2 separate regions of the Homo sapiens genome follow, and region 2 is linked to region 1. Evidence: promoter capture Hi-C in 16 types of primary human blood cells and fetal thymus (Javierre and others, 2016). All regions are on one chromosome and are shown on one strand. Each heading gives the region's core, a stretch centred on a gene start or on the middle of the fragment in contact. The rest is flanking DNA. Distances are from core to core; before and after follow the strand shown.

What was found. The method cuts DNA at HindIII sites, captures the fragments that hold promoters and counts their contacts. A CHiCAGO score of 5 or more calls a contact.
Region 2: a contact is called between a fragment that was not itself captured here and the fragment with the promoter of OSGIN2 in region 1, in 1 of 17 cell types (total CD8 T cells). The highest score is 5.8, in total CD8 T cells.

Annotation. Positions count from the first base shown.
Region 1 is chr8:89,899,615-89,906,312 of GRCh38, reverse strand. It overlaps OSGIN2 (oxidative stress induced growth inhibitor family member 2), which reads right to left and starts at 3,743. Exons shown (of 6, transcript NM_001126111.3): 1 at 3,476-3,743. The coding sequence starts at 3,519. It overlaps LOC124901974 (a long non-coding RNA gene), which reads left to right and starts at 3,907. Exons shown (of 2, transcript XR_007061001.1): 1 at 3,907-4,294. It also overlaps the pseudogene RNU6-925P. RefSeq lists silencers at 2,119-2,178, 3,172-3,621, 3,652-3,991, 3,741-4,039 and enhancers at 4,333-5,098, 5,099-5,864. The HindIII fragment of the contact is 4,461 bases long and covers 2,272-6,698 here.
Region 2 is chr8:90,457,728-90,464,586 of GRCh38, reverse strand. The region is part of intron 3 of LOC124901975 (a long non-coding RNA gene); the gene reads left to right. Among named protein-coding and RNA genes, the nearest start is that of LINC01030, 140 kb to the left of the region's middle. The HindIII fragment of the contact is 2,255 bases long and covers 3,553-5,807 here.

The DNA of each region.
Region 1 (6,698 bases), core at 2,494-4,993:
AGATTTTCTTGCCATTTTTTTAAGCTCATCAGCTATCATCAATGTGAGTGTATTTTATGTGTGGCCCAAGACAATTCTTCCAATGTGGTCCAGGGAAGCAAAAAGAGTGGACACCCCTGAACTAATGGGTACTAGGCTTAATACCTGCGTGATGAAACAAACTCCCATGACACATGTTTACCTATGTAAGAAACCTGAACTTGCATCCCTGTACTTAAAAGAAAAAACAGAATATTAAGTTTTTCAATCCATGAATATAGAATTCCTTTCCATTTATTTAGACCTTTAATTTCTCTCAACATTTTGTAGTTTTCAGTGCATAAGTATTGCATTTATTAAATTTATTCTTATGTATTTCATTTTTTGATGCTATTATATAAATGAAATACCTTTGTTAATTTCATTTTAAATTATTCAGTGTTAATGTACAGAAATACAATTCACTTTTGTATGTTGATTTTGCATCCTGCAACACCGTTGAATTTATATATTAGGTCTAGTAGTTTTTTGCATGTGCAGCCCTCAAGCAATGAAGAACCAAAGTTTAGTTTATCCAAATTCTCTACACATTAGCTTATCTAAATTTACATAGTATAGGTAATCTGCTCTGATTTTTCAGGAGCCACTGGTATAAACTCTGTGATAAACTATTTGTAGTAAACCTGCCTCCTATTTGATAGTGGTTTAACACAAAGAAAAACAAGGAAACAAAAACGGAAAGTGTGATTCACTGGTTTTACATAAAACATTAATGAAACAAGACTTTTAGTAATTATTCTTTCTAAAAAATTCAGAGCTTAAGTTATAAATTTAGTATTGCTGTACATGTTTTATAGTACATGCACAGTATATCACAGGTCTATGAACAGTGTTAATCTCTAGATTTCCAATTTGATATTTGTTCTATTTAAAACAAGAGCTTATTTTGAGTAATAAAAATCTACTTTTTCTTCGAGGCACAAATTAAAATTGGAAAATATGTACAATTACATTTAGCAACTAGTAAAGAACAGCACTTTACATGCAAAATTAGTTACTCTATTGTTAGGAAGCAAGTTAAAAGCCTATTTGACATTTAAGATGCTTTTAGAGGCCTTCCATTTTTTGTTTTTGAAACATTACAGCACAAAGTTTCAGAGAACATTTCAAAGGATAGTGTGGACATAGTATCAGGATAACAAAAAGACTTTTTCCATACCATAGCAGTACTTGTTTAAATGATCATTCAAACTAAAATGAAATGCTTTACTAACTGAATTTTTATAGTCTTTGGAACCATGAACCTAAAATTTACCAAATTTATACTACCACATGGAAAGAAGGTTCTAAAGCCACAAATGAAGTCAGTCACACTCTTCATCTTCCAGAACACGAAGGAAGAGGTTTTTTCCTTTGGAAAGTTAGTGGACAGTTCTCTCACTACTTATCCATTCAGATGTTAGACAATAGATGTCACAACCTGTTTTATAATCTGTGTTTTTTTGTGTGTTTTTTGTTTTTTTGAGACAGTCTCACTCTGTCGCCCAGCTGGAATGCAGTGGTGCGATCTCAGGTCACTGCAACGTGTCTCCTGGGTTCAAGCTATTCTCCTGCCTCAACCTCCCGAGTAGCTGGGATTACAGGTGCACACCACCCTGCCCGGCTAATTTTTGAGTTTTTAGTAGAGACGGGGTTTCACCATGTTGGCCAGGATGACCTGAACTGACCTGAAACTGCTCGAGAAATAGCACTGGTAAATCAGAAACATATTCCTGAAGGAGCTGGTAAACAACTAAAAAAAAAAATACTTTAGACACAACAGAACTGTTTTTGCAATAAAAAGTGTGGTTTATTAATCATAATGTTTATCTTTGGCAGCTAGCTTGTTTTTCTTTCTGTCCCTCCAGACCAAAACATAGCAAATACTTTGTTTTCACTCCCTACTCCAAATTTCTGTGCACGGCAGGAAGCAAATGGTATTCAACACCCAGTATTAGTCAAAAGAATATGAATCCTACACTGTGCATCAAAAGGTGTCAAATAGCTTTCACACAATATTTTCTGAAAGGCATGTTAGATTCTCATGGGCTTTATTTAGTTTAACAAGTTTCACTAGGGGAACCTATTTCCTAAAAGTTTCCATAGTGAATCTGATACCTTCAAACCGCTGTCTCAGTAGTCAACAAATTTGCCTAAAAGTTAAAATCAAGCAGTTTATTATATGAAACAATTTTTCCTTAATATCCACAACCTAGAGACTCATTCTAAACTCACTGAGAGGTTAGACAAGCTTGGATTATCGCTGTTACAAAAGAAGTTCCAAACTTTCTCTATGCCTTACATCTCTTTTACTATAGGATGACGCTTCTTAACCTCTTCTCTGAATACTGTTCTTAAATATACACAGGATTTACAAGAAAACTAATTCTATTAAAACAGTCATAAAAAGTAAACGCGATATATATATGTGCTTCTCTGTTGCATTCAATAAATTCAGTGATGTGTTACTATAATTTTGAATAAGTATAAACAGTATTTCTATATTAACTGCAATGTGATATAAACATATTTTATGATCTCTACTGATGACAGTCACAGATACTACTGTGATTTGTTGCTTATATTTTAACTGAATATTAGTTTTTAAAATTTAGTGAAATGATATACCTTTCTTTCCATCCAAGTTCATGGGTTACCTAAATTGTATGAAACCCACTATTTAGGAAGGCTTGATCAAAATTTCATATTTTACCAGGGAAGAAGTCTTACATAGAATTATTCTGGAACATCAGTATATGTAAAGCAAGGTACTAAAGTATTCCCTATGCTTAACCATTCTTCACCCCAGGGTTAAAATCAGTTTCTAGTGTCTGGTCTTTCCACCAATGACTGAGGTGTTGACCAAATGTGCTAGATCTAGAAAACATACTTTTATTTTAGAAATGTATTATATTTTATCACCCCTAAAACCTTTCCCCATAAGGTGATTGTAAAACCGCCTCATTCTTTAAATTTCTACAACACACACGTCTTACCATGGCTAACATCTTAACAAGGCAGAATCTATTTGTGATTAGATGACACTGAAATGTAGTTCCCTACCTTCCTTCCACTCATTACATTATTTAGAAGACTTTTTAAGAAATAATTTTTTTTTAGGGAGGCAGGCACTTCGTAGAACCCCCTTCACTAAAACTTTGCACTACTGGGAAGTCTCAGCTCGCCGTAACCGACTCAGTCCGGCCTAGCCGATCCCGCAGTCCCGTGACCCGCGCGGTCCAGAGCGAGAAAAGGGAACAGCGCAGGGCTCCCCGGAGCAAGGACCCCACCACACCGCACCCCACCCCACCCCCACGCCAGGCAGGACGGCCGAGGCGGGAGGACGCTGCGGTCCAGGCGCTCGCCCTCCACCCCGGTCCCGGCCCGGGCCAGGCCAAAAAGCTCGAGAGCGCGGCATCCCCGCCTGCTCCCCTCCCATCCCCGGCGAGGAAGTCACCTGAAATGACCGGCCAGGGAGCAGCGGCAGCACCACACGGGCATGGAGCGCTGCGCGAGGGGCGCCCGAGCGCGGCCGCCGTGGCCGCCTCCGCCTCCCCCGGCGAGGCTGCCCGCTCGGGGCGCCCGCTGGCTCGGGGTCGCGGGGTCTGCCGGGCGCCCCTGCCTCGCGCCTCGCCGTTGCCGCGGCTGCCCCGGCTCTGTGGCGCCGGAGTCCGCCTCCAGATAGCGGCTTCCGCTCCTCGCCTGCAGGGAGCCAGGCGCCGGAGGCGGGTGATCTCGGGGCGCCGCGATAGGGGCGGAGCGGGGCGGGGACGCTGCGACGGCGGCTGCAGCGGCGCGCGGGCCCCTCCTCGCAGGTGCGGCTGCGGCGGGCGAAGTCTGCGATTGGTGGAGCCACGGCCCGGGCGAGGGGCCGGGCCTGATGGAGCCGAGGCTGCGCGGGCAGGGGACCGAGGTCTGCAGGCAAACTGCGCGGCTCGACCGGCGGCAATCGAGACCTAGACCTCGGTCAGCGCCCCGCCGCCCCTCTGCGTGCGACTTGGTGAGGCCGGTGGGTGCGCGTCGAGAGGGCCGAGGGACGAGCGGAAGAGAAGCTGCTGCGAACTCGGGCCACCCAGATGGCCCGGCGGAGTTCCCTGCGTAAGGCGCGGCCTCGGCCACTTCGCCGAGGACCCCGGGAAGGGTCGAGCTTCCCACGCCTGAGAACCCACCTTTGGGCATTTCCTCGCGCTGCCGGGGTGCAGACGCCGGGAGCTTCCGGGTGCCTCTCCCGCTGACCCCCGCATCACAGTTACCTGGAGGACTCACCAAACCACAGGTGCCCGGGACCCGCCCACCACGCTTCTTTTATGGAAGTCCCGCTTCCGGGAAGAGGTCATCCTCCCCTCTTCATGTCTCTCAAACACCCACAAGTGTAGGAATTACCAGCACGCCGGGTGAAAATCCAGGTGCTCATCAGGCCCGCCCCAGACCACACCGGCCAGTGTGGGGAAGGGCAGGAACCCCTGCTGCTTTTTAAGCCCCTGCGGGCGTTTGTGATGCAATAGGGAGTTAGAAAAGTACTCAATAGTGAGTGTCGTTATTCGGTTTGTCAAAAATTAAAGGTGGGGAGGACAAAAATCAGGAGAGATTGATTGCATCTACTTTTCTACGGAAATGTCTAACTCCGCTTCCAAAAAAAGCCGTAATTATTTTTGTGCTTCAAATATACGTTTATGTTTATATCTTTCAACATAATTTTGTAAAACAAATGTTAAGTTTTACTGAATGTTGTCACTGAACAAACTTGTGATGAGCAGGTATTTTAGAGTCTTGGGGTCTTAAAAGAAAATCATAGGACTCAGACTGCCCCAGAGTTATGCAATCTAAGAGTATATTAACCACTTTTAAGTATTATATGTTTTTCTCTTTTTTGAGCTTTTGTCGATTTGACACGTTCATTTCATTTGAATGTTGGTTCTGAAAATGAAGCATGTAGTTACTTTTCCGTTAACATACATAACAGCATTTTAAAGTACCTAAATTCCTTTTGGAAGGCCGAGGCGGACGGATCACCTGAGGTCAGAAGTTCCAGACCAGCCTGACCAACATGGTGAAACCCGTTTCTACTAAAAATACAAAACCTAGCCCCGGGCGTGGTGGCACGCGCCTGTAATCCCAGCTACTCAAGAGCCTGATGCAGGAGAATCGCTTGAAACCGGGAGGCGGAGGTTGCAGTGAGCTGAGATCGCGCCACTGCACTCAGCCTGGGCCAAAGAGTGAGACTCCGTATCAAAAAATAATAATAAAGTACCTGGCCGGGCGCGGTGGCTCACGCTTGTTATCCCAGCACTTTGGGAGGCCGAGACGGGCAGATCACGAGGTCAGGAGATCGAGACCATGGTGAATGGCGTGAACCCGGGAGGCGGAGCTTGCAGTGAGCTAAGATCGCGCCACTGCACTCCAGCCTGGGCGACAGAGCGAGACTCCGTCTCAAAAATAAATAAATAAAGTACCTACATTCCTAAAAGCAGTGCTTAATTCTGCAGCACATATACTAAAATTAGAATAATATAAAGATTAGCATGGCCCCTTCCCAAGGATAACACGCAAATTCGTGAAGCGTTCCGTATTTTTAAATATATACACCTACTATGTAACCAAAAAAATTAAAAATAAACATATAAATTCCTGAAAGCTATGCCAGTCCAATCCAGATAATTCTTTTAATTTTTAATTTTTATTTTTTGTGAGTACATGGTATATATATTTATGGGGTACATGAGATTTTGATACAGGCATACAATAAGTAATAATCACATCAGGGTACATGGAGTATCCATCACCTCAAATATTTATCCTTTCTTTGTGCTACAAACAATCTAATTATACTTAGTTATTTTAAAATGTTCAATGAATTATCGTTGACTAGTCACTCTCGTGCTGTCAAATACTAGATCTAATTCTGTCTATACTTTTGTACCTATTAACCATCCCCACTCTGCCCCTTAATTCCCCACTACCCTGCCCAGCCTTGTAACCATCATTCTATTCTCTGTTAGTTCCGTTGTTTTAATTTTTAGCTCCCACAAATAAGTGAGAACATGCAGAGTTTGTCATTCTGTACCTGGCCTATTTCACTTAAAGTAGTGACATCAGTTGCATCCATTTTGTTGAAAATAACAGGATCTCATTCATTTTTATGGCTGAATGCTACTACGTTGTGTACATAAACCACATTTTCTTTATTTGTCTATTGATGGACACTTAGGTTGTTTCCAAATCTTGGCTGTTGTGAACAGTGCTGCAATAAACATGGGAGTGCAAGTATATCTTAGGATATACTGATTTCCTTTCTTTGGGGTATATACCTATCAGTGGCATTGCTGGATCATGTGGTAGCTCTATTTTTAGCTTTTTGAGGAATATCCAAACTATTCTCCGTAGTGGCTGTACTAATTTACATTCCCACCAACAGTGTACAAGGGTTCTCTTTTCTCCACATCCTCATCAGCATTTGTTATTGCCTGTCTTTTGGATATAGGCCATTTTAATTATGATGAAATGATATCTCATTGTAGTTTTGATTTGCATTTCTCTGATGATGAGTGATGTTGAGCACCTTTTCATATACTTATTTGTCATTTGTATGCCTTCTTTTGGTAAATGTCTATTCACATCTTTTGCCCATTTTAAATTTTTTTTTTTTTTGAGAGATAGGTTCTTGCTCTGTCATCCAGGCT
Region 2 (6,859 bases), core at 3,431-5,930, 560 kb before region 1:
ATTTGTGTGAGCTGTCATTCTGGCTGCAGCATTTCCAGTGTCTGACTCATAGTAGGGGATGCACACAACTCTGTTGTAAAAATTAAAGGATGATGAAATAACAAATATAATGCTTTTTCAATTATCCCCTTTTTATTGTCTCGTCTTCTACCCTTTATTATTAATAACTGACCCATTCATTCAACAAGTATTTATTATCTACTCTCATAGAACTGAGGATTATCTTTAAAATACCCACTTCATTTTGTGGAGGGCTTTGGAAAAAAAGTACCTGCCAGAAAAATGATAGAATTGGGTAAAAACTCATTCTCCTAGAGTGCTCATAATAATAGCCTCCAGTTAAGTTTATACTGGGAGCTCTCTGGGGTCTTTCCAAAGGTGAAGAAAATGATTACAACTTCTGATTTTTTTTTCATTTCCAATTTGTATGAACTTTTAAACTTCTTTTAGCACTTCACCTAACTATTATGAAATCAAGATCAAAGGCAATTTCTTAAAGAAAAAAAAGACGTAACTCTACTGTGAAGCTAGTTATTTCATAAAACTACATCTTCTGAAAAACCACATAAAAGAAGTGACCAGGAGAAAAGATTGAAAACCTCACAAGAATAGTCAGAAATTTCAATGAAATTAGAACTTGTTTTCAAAAAATCCAATTAAAAACAACAATGGACATGATCAAGTGTACCATTGCCCCATTCTGCACTTTTTAACTTTCTTACAAAGGAATGTGCTAAGCGAGGCTGACTTTTTCTAACTCTATTTCCCACTGCCTTCCATAATCTTTTCTTCCTGTTTTGTATATGTTCTCTTCAGTCTTGAACCCTGTTTTGGGGGACATAAGGTTCTGGTAACATTGTAGGTAAATGATCTGTATTCTCTGTGTGATGTGAGTGTGTGGAGGCCTTTCTGGAGAGTCATGAGAGAGCAGAGGTTAAGTGTCTCTGTCTCCAATCATTTCTTTCTGTGCATCTCTTCTCTCCTCCAATACTTTCTGGCTATGTTATTCCACCAATGTCATATGCCCTATGTCCACCTATATTATGGTGGCCATAATATAGGTTCTAAGTTATCTCTCTATCTGGTTAACCAGGTCTAGCATAGCATAGGGTGGCTGTAGGCACAGGTAAAGTAGCCCATGACAGGCAGAGGTTGGGGTCATTTACTTTATTTTGAGTTTCACTGTATCCCAGCATGTGGTGAAGCCCTGGCACTCAGTTTCTACTGGGTGAGTGCCTGCTACATGCCAGGCATTGTGCTAGCTGCTGGGTATTAAAAGATGAAAGGCAGTACAGCCCTTTCATGTACTAGCTCAGTGACCTGGGCTAGATAATTCACTCTCAGCAGAAATGTCTTCATTTTCAAAGAGGGCTGATGCCCATTCTATAAAGCTGTTGTAAGGACAAAATAGATAAAAGTTCTAGTACAGTCCTTTGTACATAGTAGGTGTTTAAAAATGATAACTGTTATTTTTGGTGATGACAGTGATGATGATGAGGAGGAGGATGAGAATGACAAGTCATCCTAGCATTCCAAGAGCCTAATGTCTAGTGAGGTTTGATGAATGCACGAGTCTCCCATACCTAATTATTGTGCTTGAAACTTAGAAGACAGTGCAAACCATGACTATTTTTGGATTATTTTGTTCCTTAATTTTGTACGATGGGTCCAAGAGTAAGCTATTGAATGATCAAAGATGCCACTATGAGAATGACAATTCTGACTCCTGCACAAGTGATCCTCGATAACTGGGGAGTGAATCCACCTCTTCTGGTAAAGAGAATCCCAGCAGAAAAGGAATGTGATTCTCAGAGAAGACACAAGGTACTTTGTAGGTTGATCACCCCTAACTTGAAGACAGAGAAGGCTGAGGTTCCCCAGAGCTAAAGCCTACATATGCAGAGAAGAGAGACTTGCTTAAAGAGGCTTCCACTGCGGGGATGAGAAAAAGCCCTTGAGAAGATGCTGAGCTTCTCACAATTAACATAAATTGAAAGATTTGTAGGGAAGCTTAAATCAATTACATTTTTTCAGTCAGCAACATTTATTGTGTTCTGATTACAGGCCAGGAAACATGGTCAGGCTGCTAAGGAAACAATGATGCACAAAAATCTGGGTTCTCATTGTTTCAGGGCTCATAGGTTAGTGAGGAACTCAGGGGAACTCAAACTAAGACCTTGTGAGAGAAAATAGAATGCTGGGGAAGGACAACCCAGATCTGAAGGACGAAGAGGTGCTAACAAGTCTAGGCACAGGGAACTGTGTATACAGATCCTGCAATACATACACAAGATACTGGCGAGTGTGTGGAACAGAAAGCTACTCAGGTGTCTGGGGAGCAGCCAGTGGGGTGATGAGTGGCTGCAAACAATACTGCAAAGGGAGGCAGAAAGATCTTATTATCATGTTCTTCTAGGAAAGCAAGGAGTACATATTGCTAGTATTCTGTAGCAGAGAGTGACATGGGACCTGGAAAGATGAACATCATGACATTTTGTGCCAATGAGCTTCATGTTTTTTCTAGCCCAAGGATTTTATCATTCCTGCAGGTGGGGTTTTGGGTATATTCAAGATACAGACTCTCTTCTCTTTCTCTCTTGCCAAAACACCTTCAGTAACCTGCTTAATATTCACGGCATTTTTTAAAAAACCCAAATTCTTTTTCACAGTATACATGGCCATCTCAGTCTTGGGTTTGACTCTCCATTCTGTCAGTTATAGCCTCATGGCTGGCCTTTAACAGGCTGCTTAAACAGTCTTTACTCTTCTTCATCTGATAAAAGAAATAACCACCTCATAGAGACATTGTGGATATTTTTCGAGCAAATATATTCATTAAGCACTTAACTCAGCATTTGACCCATAGTAATAGCTCAACAAATGGTAATTTTTTAGCAGTAAAATAACAATGTACATATTAGAACACCTATAATTAGAAGGAAAACATGTGCCTAAAAGATTTAGCTAAGAAATTTCATTGCTATGTTCAAGCAGAAAAATCCGTGTCCTTTCAGGTTGTAGTGTATTGAATATGTGAAATTGAGTTTCAGAAACACCTATGTACTCCTGATAAAAAAAAAGTTGTGAATGTCACTTGAACATATACTTTACAGATTTTTTTAAGACCATGGCTCAAATATGTAGCTTTGTGTATAATTGCTCTGCTTTCTGATGGGTAACAAACAATAAAATCTAGTAAGGTTTTCATTCTAATACTGTCTTTATTTAAATCTGATCAAAGCCTCAAATATATAGTGTGGTATTAAGAGTGTGATGGCTTCCACACTATGCCTATGCATGTTTAGAAGAGCCTCCTAGAGGATGGACTTCCTTCTGGAGGTGAATAACTAGTGAGAACTGCACACTGTGAGATCTGTAATAAAACACCTTGAATTCTGATTTTCCAACTTGCTCAAGTACTCTCCAGTTGATGCTATGTCCTGAATTAAATTTGAGTTACTGATCTCAAGCATTTGATTTTTTTATGGCTATGATGCATTTCATAGGGTTAAGATAACTCCTTGAAATAGAAATTATCCAAATGGGAAAGCTTGGGTGAAAGTATATGGATAAGCAATTCTGTCCTCCTACAAATTCGCTCCTCTTGAAAAGTCATTATCATTCTTTTGTTGCATATTTGAAGCATCCTGTAAGTAAGCACATTGCTGCTTGAGGAAGTTGCTGTTGGAAAGGCCCCATTTTCATGGTTCATAATAAAGAAATACTGCAACATTATGAAAGAATATTCACCAACTGGTGCGCTCTCAAAAAAGTATTCACAGCCATTGTGTATGATTTGTGAATAAAATAAAACATTAAAATGTGCATTCAGAATATTAGCATGTTAATCATATGCTTCCATATGGTGCTTACAGTTGTCTCCATTGTGTCCATTCAAAGTTATTTGATTTTAAACTTGTACAAGGACTTTATAAACACTTGGTAACCATCATTCATTGCCTTAGCAATATGTAGCTATTCTGACCTAAAGCTAAATGAGACAAAGTATTTTACAGCACTGGTGTGCTGTAAAAATTGAAATATTTGGTTCTGGTCTAAATTTTTAGGTTTGGGGGTTACTTAACAGGAAGAATATAAATTTCAATACTAGCTAATAATTGCAGTTTAACAGTGGATTAATAAAAGCATTCTTTTTCAAGAGTCAAATCACTTACTGAGCAATAATCAGCTATCAAAATTATGTCATGGGTTGCTTGTCCACAAACTCAATCAGATCTTTGCGTAAATTGTACTTTCACATTTCCATTCTTGTGTCCAGAGTCAACAAATGTCAACTCCGTAGGCAGGAGCTGACGCAGCCCTTGAGCCTTGTTTCCTAAATATGGCTTTTGCACAAAAGCATTAGAAAGCTCAATGAGCTTATATTTATTGAATTCTTACTGTGTCCCACTAAGCTAAACTCTGAAATGGATAATCTTATTTAATTCTTACATATCAATGAGTTAAGTACTATTTTTAGCATTTCCACTTAAAAAAAAAAACTGATGTGCAGAGATTAAAGAGCATGGCAAATACATAGTGCTAGTGAATGGCAGGAGAGGCACTTGGAGTGAGCTCTCTATATCCAAAGCCCACAACTTTACCCACTGTGCTCGTCTGTGTTTTGTCTACAACAAACTTTTCATGACCTCTTTTACTGCCCAAAAAGCCCATCCAGTTCAGGAAAGAACAAGCAGACTGGAACATTCTGCATAGTGCTCCCATTACTGCCACATTATACCCCTGGGCACTGACCTGTATTTCATCAAATTTCATACATATTGATGCTGGAGTTTTCTTTATCTTACCAAAAGGTTTTCACACAACTGTATCATGTCTATCCCATGACTGATGGTAATTTTGAGTTGTCATTGCTTTTAAGATGTATCCTAACTTCATTGTGGTTAATTTTTTAAAATTTAATTTTTTAAAGTCAATATAGTGTAATAAATATTGATTAGTATTGTCAAAGCCCTTTAGTGTAGTCTGGGGCCTTACTCAGCAACCTAATTTTGATTTACCTGTCACTAACATATTTTCCAAGAAAATAATCATTTAATTCTAACAGAGCTTAATCCGCTTTTTCAAACCATGCATCATGTTTACTAACTCACGTGTGACTCTCATCCAAGCAGCCACAATTAGAGTCAGCTGCATCCTTTTTCTTTCCAGAATTAAGTACATATATATTTAATTAATTAATATATGTGCGTATATATATGTAGTGACTGTAGAACTTAGTAATTGGTGACAGGTTTCATGATAACTGCTTTAGTTGAAAATAATTTTGAACTTTCAATGATTATATAATCACAGAATCTCGAGTCTGAGGAAATCTTTACATTCCAACTGGTCCAATCTCCCACCCTGGGTAGGAATTCTTGGCTGTAGCTCATCATCCAACCTTGGTGGCTGTGATATATGATACAGCAAATAACATTCTCTATTGATTTAGGTAGGTAAAATGTGATGTATTTTATGTTGCAAAATAAAAGATTTAAAATATTGGGTACATTATGTTGCAAAGTCTCCACCAAGTATCTTTATTTCTTGTTACATGTGGTAGCAACAGCACCAAGTGCCTCAGGGCCTAGACATCTCAGTGATGACTGGCCCTAGGAGACCATCGCTGAGTCCTGATTGCTGCAAATTGGGCTGGCAAATAATACCTGCCTGTACTTAACGTGGTATCCTTGCAACAGTGAATCCTGCTGTGCCCCTATGGGTTCCCTGAATAGCAGCCTCTTGAGTATCTTTTTGACAAGTTCTCTTTAGTTGTCACTGCAGGCCTGGTGTTTGGCCAAGCTTTACATCCATGCTATTAGTGATTTTATTATTCCAGTCAACACATTTCTGCAATAATGATAAAGTACCAATTATGTAATTCTATATTGTTTTGTTATGAATAATAATTAAATGGCTATGAACAATAATTATAGCTACCACTTTTTTATTGACCAGTATGCTAAGTGTTTTGTAATATATTATGTCACCATTATCACTTATTAAGCTTTCATAACTTATCCATAATCAGACTACCTGACCTAATGCCCAAATTTTCAACCTCAACCCTAACTTACTGGGAAGAAAGAAAGTTTATGAAACTTGGCCTAGAGAATTTATAGGAAGTGTGTAAGTTCACACAGCCAACAAGGGGTGAAATTCAGACTTGTGTTACAAGTCTTGCTTTTGGTCCATAGCTCCTTCTAAAACTCAACATTTGATGAAACACATGCAATTTTTGAATACATGGCTGGCTTACTTCTAGTGTAATTAAATTTAGTCTTTGATGTTGCATCCATTTTAATATGTCAGAAATTATACACAAATGTCTGTCTTAGTCTATTTGGGTTGTTCTAACAAAATACTATAAACTGAGTGGCTTTTTTTTTTTTTTTTTTTGAGATGGAGTCTCCCTCTGTCGCCCAGGCTGGAGTGCAGTGGTGTGATCTCGGCTCACTGCAAGCTCTGCCTCCCAGGTTCACGCCATTCTCCTGCCTCAGCCTCCCGAGTAGCTGGGACTACAGGTGCCCGCCACCATGCCCGGCTAATTTTTTTGTATTTTTAGTAGAGACGGGATTTCACCATGTTAGCCAGGATGGTCTCGATCTCCTGGCCTTGTGATCCGCCCGCCTTGGCCTCCCAAAGTGCTGGGATTACAGGCGTGAACCACTGCGCCCAGCCAACTGAGTGGCTTATAAACAACATAAATTTATTTCTCACAGTTCTGGAGGCTGGGAAGTCCCAAGATCAAGGTGCCAGCAGATTTGGTGTCTGGACAATGCCTACTTCTTGGTTCATAGATGGCCATCTTCTCACTGTAAACTCACATGACAGATGTCTAAGATTGAACTAAAAG